2 separate regions of the Homo sapiens genome follow, and region 1 is linked to region 2. Evidence: promoter capture Hi-C in 16 types of primary human blood cells and fetal thymus (Javierre and others, 2016). All regions are on one chromosome and are shown on one strand. Each heading gives the region's core, a stretch centred on a gene start or on the middle of the fragment in contact. The rest is flanking DNA. Distances are from core to core; before and after follow the strand shown. Region 1 overlaps LRRC20 (leucine rich repeat containing 20). Region 2 holds the start of SAR1A (secretion associated Ras related GTPase 1A).

Region 1 (3,920 bases), core at 219-2,718, 160 kb before region 2:
ATTTTTGGAGTTGGCACATTCCTTCGAGCATGGGTTGTATAATTACTGCAGGCCAGCCTTGTCTGTCCCCTAATGGAATTGGCAAGCTTCTCTCTCAGCTGGGGTTAATCTAAGGCCTCTGAGTCAGCCTTGGCAATTGTCCAAGATAAGGATGGTACAGGAAGTAATAAGAGGAACTTGGGGAAGAAGAGGTCCATTTAACAGACACCGGAAACCACAGTTCAGTAGGTTTAATCAATAAGGAAATGTCATGATGGGGGCTGCTCTCAGGCTGGGTACAACGTTGGGAGTGGAATGGAGTGGGATCTTTTTCCAGAGCCCCGGTCCATCCTGGGAGCCCTGGTTGTTCCACTCTGAACCCTGGCCTGGTGCAGGAAGAATCTTTGGAACCCCTAATGCAGTCTTCTGGGACCAGAAGATCTCAGCCCTCTCTGTCCAGAAGAGGGGGCAGTAAGACCTTGGGCAGATGGCCTGGGTGCTGTGACTCCAGAGGTGAGAAGCAAAGCCAGACGTGGCTGTGGCTGTGTTGGGCTGGAAGCCCAACACACTGGCCGATCCCGTGGCTGGGGCTTTGGCCACACTTTTATTCTTCCTCTGAACTGGAAACAACAGAGAAAACCTTAAATGCCTGGTTTGGGGCCATATAAGAGATAAAAAGAAAGCCAAGGCATCAGCAGCCTTGCTGGCCCCAGTTGGCCTTCGTGGCCTCAGTTTCCTTATCTGAGAAATGGGGAAACATCTACTCCATAGTGATTTTGTGAGGTTGGAGATATTGCTTATAAGGTGCCCTGTGTAGGGTTTGGTGCATGCAAGATTCTTGATGAGTGATGCTTCTGATACAGTGATGGTGAAGACACTGGGGGGCTTAGTTGTAGACAAGAGAGGTCTCTGGCCAAGTAGTCAGGATGATGGTCCAGTCATAGGAATCTCTCTCCACAAGGAATTTCAGTGAGAACAGAACTGGAGAGATCCCCAAGTCCACGTCTTCACGGATGGGGACCCTGAGGCTCAGAAGGGAGAAGTGGCTTTTCTGACCTGCCTCCAGGAAGATGTAGGGCGAGACCTCAGTTCAGGGTCCCCGGGTCCCCGGTCAGGCTCTTTGCCATGGAAGCAGGTGGTGTGGTCACCTGCTTCTCAGCTAATGCTAAGAGGCTGTTTTTAACTGGTTGTGTATATATACCTCACCTTACCGCACAGAGGATTTGTGGAGCTTGTGACGCAGGCAGCTTGGGTAGAGCAGTGGAAACCACAGTGGGAGCAGAAGCAACTCAGAGACCCTGCTGGGCCGTGGCTTCTGAGAAGTGAAGCTGGATGGCTGGGAAGAACTTGCTCTCTTGCCGGTGCCTCCCCACCCCATCAGGATGCATGCCCCATTCTGTCTAATTCAAGGCCTTTCTGTGGAATGCTTCCTTCCCATGGAGCTCAGATTTGGCTACCTGGAGATTTACTCTAACAATTTTGGTGGAATTTGGCACATACATTGACATTCATAAAGCCCTAGGGGTTGGACAAGTGGGTGACTGACAGGGGTGGGACATCCATCCCCAGGAACCTGCTGTCTTTGCCCTCCCTTGGGGAGGGGGCCTAGAAGCAGCTCCATGGTTTGGTTCCCACTCAAAACCTACCAGGTTTATTATAAACAACTTTATTCTTATAAATTTGGCAACTTAGAAGAAATGGACCATGTTCTTGAGAACCACAAACCACTAAAACTCAGCCAAGATGAAACAGACAACCTGAAGAGACCTATGACTATCAAATAAGTGGAATTCATAAATAAAAAGATCCCAAAGAAGAAATCTCCAAGCCCAGGTGATTGCATTGGAGAATTCTATCAAACTTTTAAAATGAGAATTAACATCAATTTTACACAGCCTCTTCCAGAAAATAGAAGGGAAGGGCATACTTCCCAATCCATGCTATGAAGTTGATATTACTCTGATATCAAATGCAGACAAAGACAGTATAAAAAATGTGAAAGAAAAAGAAAATACAGACCAATATCTCCCAAGAACACAGATGGAAAGATTCTCAGCAAAATATTACCAGTCAAATTCGGCAATGTATAAGAAGAATATATGACATGTGTAAGTGGGATTTATCAGTTATTCCAGGTATGCAAGTCTGGGTCCAACTTTAGAAATCAATCAGTGTAATCTATTATATGAAAAGGCTAGGCTGGGCGAGGTGGCTCACGCCTGTAATCCCAGCACTTTGGGAGGCTGAGGTTGGTGGATTGCCTGAGCTCGGGAGTTCGAGACCAGCCTGGGCAACATGGGGAAACCCCGTCTCTAGTAAAATACAAAAAATTAGCTGGGCATAGTGGCGGCATGCACCTGTAATCCCAGCTACTCGGGAGGCTGAGACAGGAGAATCGCTTGAACCCGGGAGGCAGAAGTTGCAGTGAGCCGAGATCGTGCCACTGCACTCCAGTCTGGGGGACAGAGCCAGACTCCATCTCGAAAAAAAAAAAAAAAAAGGCAAAAGAAGAATCACACAATCATATCATTTGACAAAGAAAAAGCATTTGACAAACTCCAACTCTCAGTACACTAGAAATACAGGGAAACTACCTCAACTTGGTAAAGAGCATCTTCAAAAATCCTACAGCTAACATCAGACTTGATGATGAAAGCCTTTCCCCCAAGCTGGGAACAAGGCAAGGATGTCCACTCTCATCCTTAAAGTTCTAACCACTGCCATAAAACAACAAGAAGAAGAAGATAGCTTTTCCCTGGGCTTTTTGCCGAACTGGTTTTTTTCACTCTGACCTCAAATGCCTTCCTAGCGATCTGAAATAACCTTCTTTTCTTGTTTACTATTTCTCCCTGCACTTGTCTGTAAGCTTGTTAAGGTTGGGATCTAGTCTGTCTCATTGCCACGATTTCCCGCTGTCTAGCAGAGCCTGCCCTGTGGTAGGTGCTGAGTAATATTTTTTGAGTAAGTGGAGACTGTGTTGGCATCATTGGCTCTGACTGGCTTCCTGCAATCCATGTGTCACAGTTGCACTGACCCTCTCTTATTTTCCCTTTTGATTCCTGCTATCATGTTGGCTTTGAATTTTGTTTCTGCAAAGGTTCCATAATCCAGGAACCAAGTGTCATGTGTCTTCTATCTCTAAGAGAGTCTCGCTCTCACTCTGTTGCCCAGGCTGGAGTGCAGTGGCAGGATCTTGGCTCACTGCAACCTCCGCCTCCCGGGTTCAGGTAATTCTCCTGCCTCAGCCTCCCAAGTAGCTGGGATTACAGCTGTGTACTGCCATGCCTGGCTGATTTTTGTATTTTTAGTAGAGACAGAGTTTCACCATGTTGTGCAGGCTGGTCTTGAACTCCTGGCCCCAAGTGATCCACCCACTTTGGCCTCCCAAAGTGCTGGGATTACAGGCATGAGCCACTGCGCCTGGTCTTGTTGAGTGTATTTAATTTTCAAAGATTACCCTTTTCTGACCGGGCATGGTGGCTCATGCCTGTAATCCTAGCACTTTGGAAGGCCGAGGCGGGTGTATCACCTGTGGTCAGGAGTTCGAGACTAGCCTGGCCAACATGGCAAAACCCTGTCTCTCGTAAAAATCCAGAAATTAGCTGGGTGTGGTGGTGGGTGCCTATAATCCCAGCTTCTTGGGAGGCTGAGGCAGGAGAATTGCTTGAACCCAGGGAGCGGAGGTTGCAGTGAGCCAAGATCACACCACTGCACTCCAGCCTGGGCGAAAGAGCAAAACTCCATCTCAAAAAAAAAACGCCAAAAAACAAAAAACAAAGATTACCCTTTTTACATTCAGTTACAAGGCTGAGCATATAGTAGGTGCTTAGTAAATATGTGATTAGGCTGAGCATATAGTAGGTGCTTAGTAAATATGTGACTTGTGTAGCTCATCCTGCCTTTCACAGCCCTCTTAGCTCATCATCACAGCCTGCGATAAA
Region 2 (3,641 bases), core at 825-3,324:
TTCAAAATACACACATCTTTTCATCACTTGAAACTTGTTTAGAGTAATAAACTTTTGGAGATTCAACCTGTAGGTTTTTTTGACTACCCAATTGTCTCAACCCCTTTTATTATTTATTAATTTATTTAACAACACATAACAGAATCATTTATTGAAAACAGTACTCTGGAAAAACTATGTGCACAACAATGCCTGTTTCACCCATTTTACAGTGGGTACATGGTGGTCTGGGGCATTCGTCAACTTGCTCAAGCCTTTAGGTAAGTAGAGTTTGCGGCTTTTCTGAGAATCTGCCTGCATGTTCCCTCCTTCCCCAGCCTCCCAAGCCATCCTGTGGTTCAGACACCTCCACCTCGTGCAGCCAGGCTCTCAACAAAGCCAGTAATCCAATGTGTTGGCTTGCACTGGGCTTGCATCTGTGTCTCCAGGATGCACAAGGGGTTCCAAGCCCCATGGACACATTGTCCCTGGTTTAGCTAAAGCTGGTGAGAAGCCTCAGAAGTGGCCTGACACCTTTCTGTGACAGGACAGGGTTCAAATTCAACATCTAAGACCCCAGGATGAGCGGAGGGTAGAGGGTGGTGAGCTTGCCCACTCAGCTCCCTGAGTATTGCTGGAGTCCCAGGTGCTACTTTAGTTTTATTTCTGCATGTACTTTAGTCATTTCTGTACTTTGCTCTGTTCCATTGTGTTTTTTGTGTGTGTGTGTTTGTGCATGTGCACGCACACCAGTTTTAATAACTTAGGCTCTATAATATGTTTTAATATCCAACAGGGTTAGTTCCCACCTCCTTGTTCTTCATTTTGAAAGCCTGTTTCTGGACTAGTTTTGTTTGGTTTTCTATACGAATTTTAGGAACAAATAGGGTAATTAAAAAAAAAGAACGAAACCACACACGACCTATTAATCCTATTAGTACTTTTATTGGGATTATGTTAAATTTAAATTTTACTAAAGGAGAATTGAGATCTTCATGAACCCACAGACGTCATTCATCTTTCCATTAGACTGTTTTATTTGTAAAATGAGAGTAATAATAGTACCAATCTCGTGGGACTGTCCTGAGAATTAAATGAGAAAATGCATGCGAAATATACTGGGGTGAACACGTTGCTTTGCCACTTAGCTGTGTGAACTTGGGCATGGTAGGTTATTCTGAACATTGCTCTCTCATTTGTCAATAAGGATAATACTAGCATCTGGAGTCACAGGACTCCAATGACGGTGAAATTAGACAAAGCGTGCAAAGTACCCAGTGCTCTGCCTGGAACATAAGTGCACAATAAATATTAGCTGTTTTTCTGTTTTTCTAAAACATAGGCCACCCCAGGGCAAGGAAGTGCGACTCAAAGCAAAAGCAGCTGGGCGCGGTGGCTCACGCCTCTCATCCCAGCATTTTGGAAGGCCGAGGCCAGCGGATCACTTGAGGTCAGAAGTTCGAGACCAGCCTGGCCAACACGGTGAAACCTGTCTCTGTAAAAATACAAAAAAATTAGCCAGGTGTGGTGACATGCGCCTGTAGTTCCAGCTACTCGGGAGGCCGAGGTATGAGAATCGCTTGAATCCGGGAGGTGGAGGTTGCAGTGAGCCGAGATCGCGCCACTGCACTCCAGCCTGGGCGACAAAGTGAGACTCCGCCTCAAAAAAAAAAAAAAAAAAAAAAAAAGCAAGGAAGAAAAAAAGCAAAAGCTTGGAGGGATCCACCTCAAGTGGAGGGCCCCAAGGTCAACTCATCTTTCCCAGGACCTATGTCACCGTCGGTACCCACTTCTGACTTTCCTGGTGCGTCTGGAATGGGAAGCCGCGATCCCGAGTGTACCAGGCCGCTCAGGGACTCCAGGACCCAGCCCCGGACCCAGGGTTCCGGCGCTGCCACGTCTCGCGCGGTCAGCTAGCCAGACGGGAGCAGGCGGGGCCGAGGCGGGGCCAGACCCCGAGCGCGCTTTGTCACGCCTTATGCCCGCCCCTCCGCGGCCCGAGTCGCTGGTGGGACGGCACCGGGGCAGAGAGGCGTAACGCTGTGAGGGGGCGGGGCCCATTACGCGCCCGGAAGTCCCGGGGAGGGGTGTGACGTACATCCGGCGAGTAGCTGGCGGTCCCGGGTGCTGCTGGTTAGTGTGCTCTGAGGGAGGGTCCGAGCCAGCCGCTGTTTTGCCGGAGGAGCCCCTCAGGCCGTGAGTCTGAGGGTCGCGTCGGGGAGGGGAGTTGGGGCTCGAGGGGCTGGGACGGAAGGCGGGGAGGTCGGAGCGGAGGCTGGCCCTGGCGGGGTTGGGTGGGGGGGAAGTGACACGCAGGCGGTTCTGTGGGGCCGCGGGGCTGATTCTGGGCGGGGACGGGACAACTTGGCCAGATCTGCTCCGTCCCCTGCTGTCCTCTTTGCCTGGGGTCCACTTGCATTCCGCTCGGGGGTCTCGCAGCTGCTGGGCCGGATAACAGTTTCTTGTCTGTACCGTGCGCTCCGGTTTACGAAATGGCTCCATGTCCTCTGTCTCGGAAGAGCCTCACAGCCCTCGGTGAGGCGGGTGGGAGCCCTTTATGATTATCCTTGTTTTGTAGACTCGGAGACTGAGGCTGGCCAAGGCTCCGCAGTTAGCGAGTGTGAGCGCTCGAACCTGGTCTACAGGCCCCTAGTCCAGGGCTTACCCCCAAGTCAGCGCTTGGTTGTCTTCCGATGGCCCGGGTCGAACCCTGTATTTTCTCCTTCTCCCTTCCCCTTTTCCCCTGTCTGGTCTCTGCATGGAAAAATTTCCTTATGTGCATTTGACATGGATTAGCGTTTTCTTCACGATTCTAGCCAGTGGGTCAGGAGCATCTTTGTCTTGTTGATTCCATCGGCTTCGGTTGCGACAGGGGGCTTAGGGAGATTCGCCATGGGGCTGACCTTTGACATTTACCCCGCAGCTAAGCAGAGTTAGCTAAAAGCCAGCCGCCTACTACCCCAAATCTGCCTGGAATGGCGTCTTAAAGTTGCCCTGATTATGTATAACAAGTAATGCGTAAATTTTTAAATTGGCTAATGGTCAGATTGGTGCCCTCCTTTTCTATTAACATTTGTTTGAATCATTTAGCCCTGGAATTCGCAAGTTTTCATTTTAGGTACATTAATAGTGTTTTGTTGATAGTTTAGAGACCTACCTTAAATTTTAGATTACTCTTAACTTCTCGTAAGGTGGTACAATGGACCAAGAATAGAAAATAAATAGAATGCTAGTTATTAAAATACCATTCAAAAGATGTGATGAGTTGTAAGGAAGAGAACTTCGGAAGATCATCCTCTGTGTAGTTGGTGGGTTAAAGAAGTTTTAGTTTTTTTTTTTTTCCCCAGCAATTTTGTGGTTTGGGTTTGAATTTTATGTACTGTTAACAGGAAGAGCTTAGGCTTTGGTGTTAGAGATGAGGGTTTAAGCCCTGGCACTATTACTTTTTCAACTGAGCCGTCTTAAAGGACTCAGCAAAACTAGGAGTATCCTCATCTTTATCTTGTTAAATGAGGCCAGTGATCCTTGCCTGGTAGGGTTGGTGTGGGGATGAAATGAGATGTACAAGTACTGTGCAGATTGTAAAACTACTGATGAGTTGGTACAAATCCTAAGATCTTAAGGAGAGAGGAGCCACCAAGGCCATTTTCAGCTGCTGAGGA

The links. The method cuts DNA at HindIII sites, captures the fragments that hold promoters and counts their contacts. A CHiCAGO score of 5 or more calls a contact.
Region 1: a fragment that was not itself captured here is called in contact with the fragment with the promoter of SAR1A in region 2 in 1 of 17 cell types (monocytes); the score reaches 7.0 in monocytes.

The regions. Positions count from the first base shown.
Region 1 is chr10:70,328,121-70,332,040 of GRCh38, reverse strand. All of the region lies in intron 3 of LRRC20 (leucine rich repeat containing 20), which reads left to right. Among named protein-coding and RNA genes, the nearest start is that of NPFFR1, 46 kb to the right of the region's middle. RefSeq lists an enhancer at 1-288. The HindIII fragment of the contact is 2,759 bases long and covers 89-2,847 here.
Region 2 is chr10:70,168,947-70,172,587 of GRCh38, reverse strand. SAR1A (secretion associated Ras related GTPase 1A) reads left to right here and starts at 2,074. Exons shown (of 7, transcript NM_020150.5): 1 at 2,074-2,175. RefSeq lists enhancers at 1,580-1,659, 1,793-2,449, 2,450-3,108 and a silencer at 1,790-2,149. The HindIII fragment of the contact is 7,469 bases long and covers 1,693-3,641 here.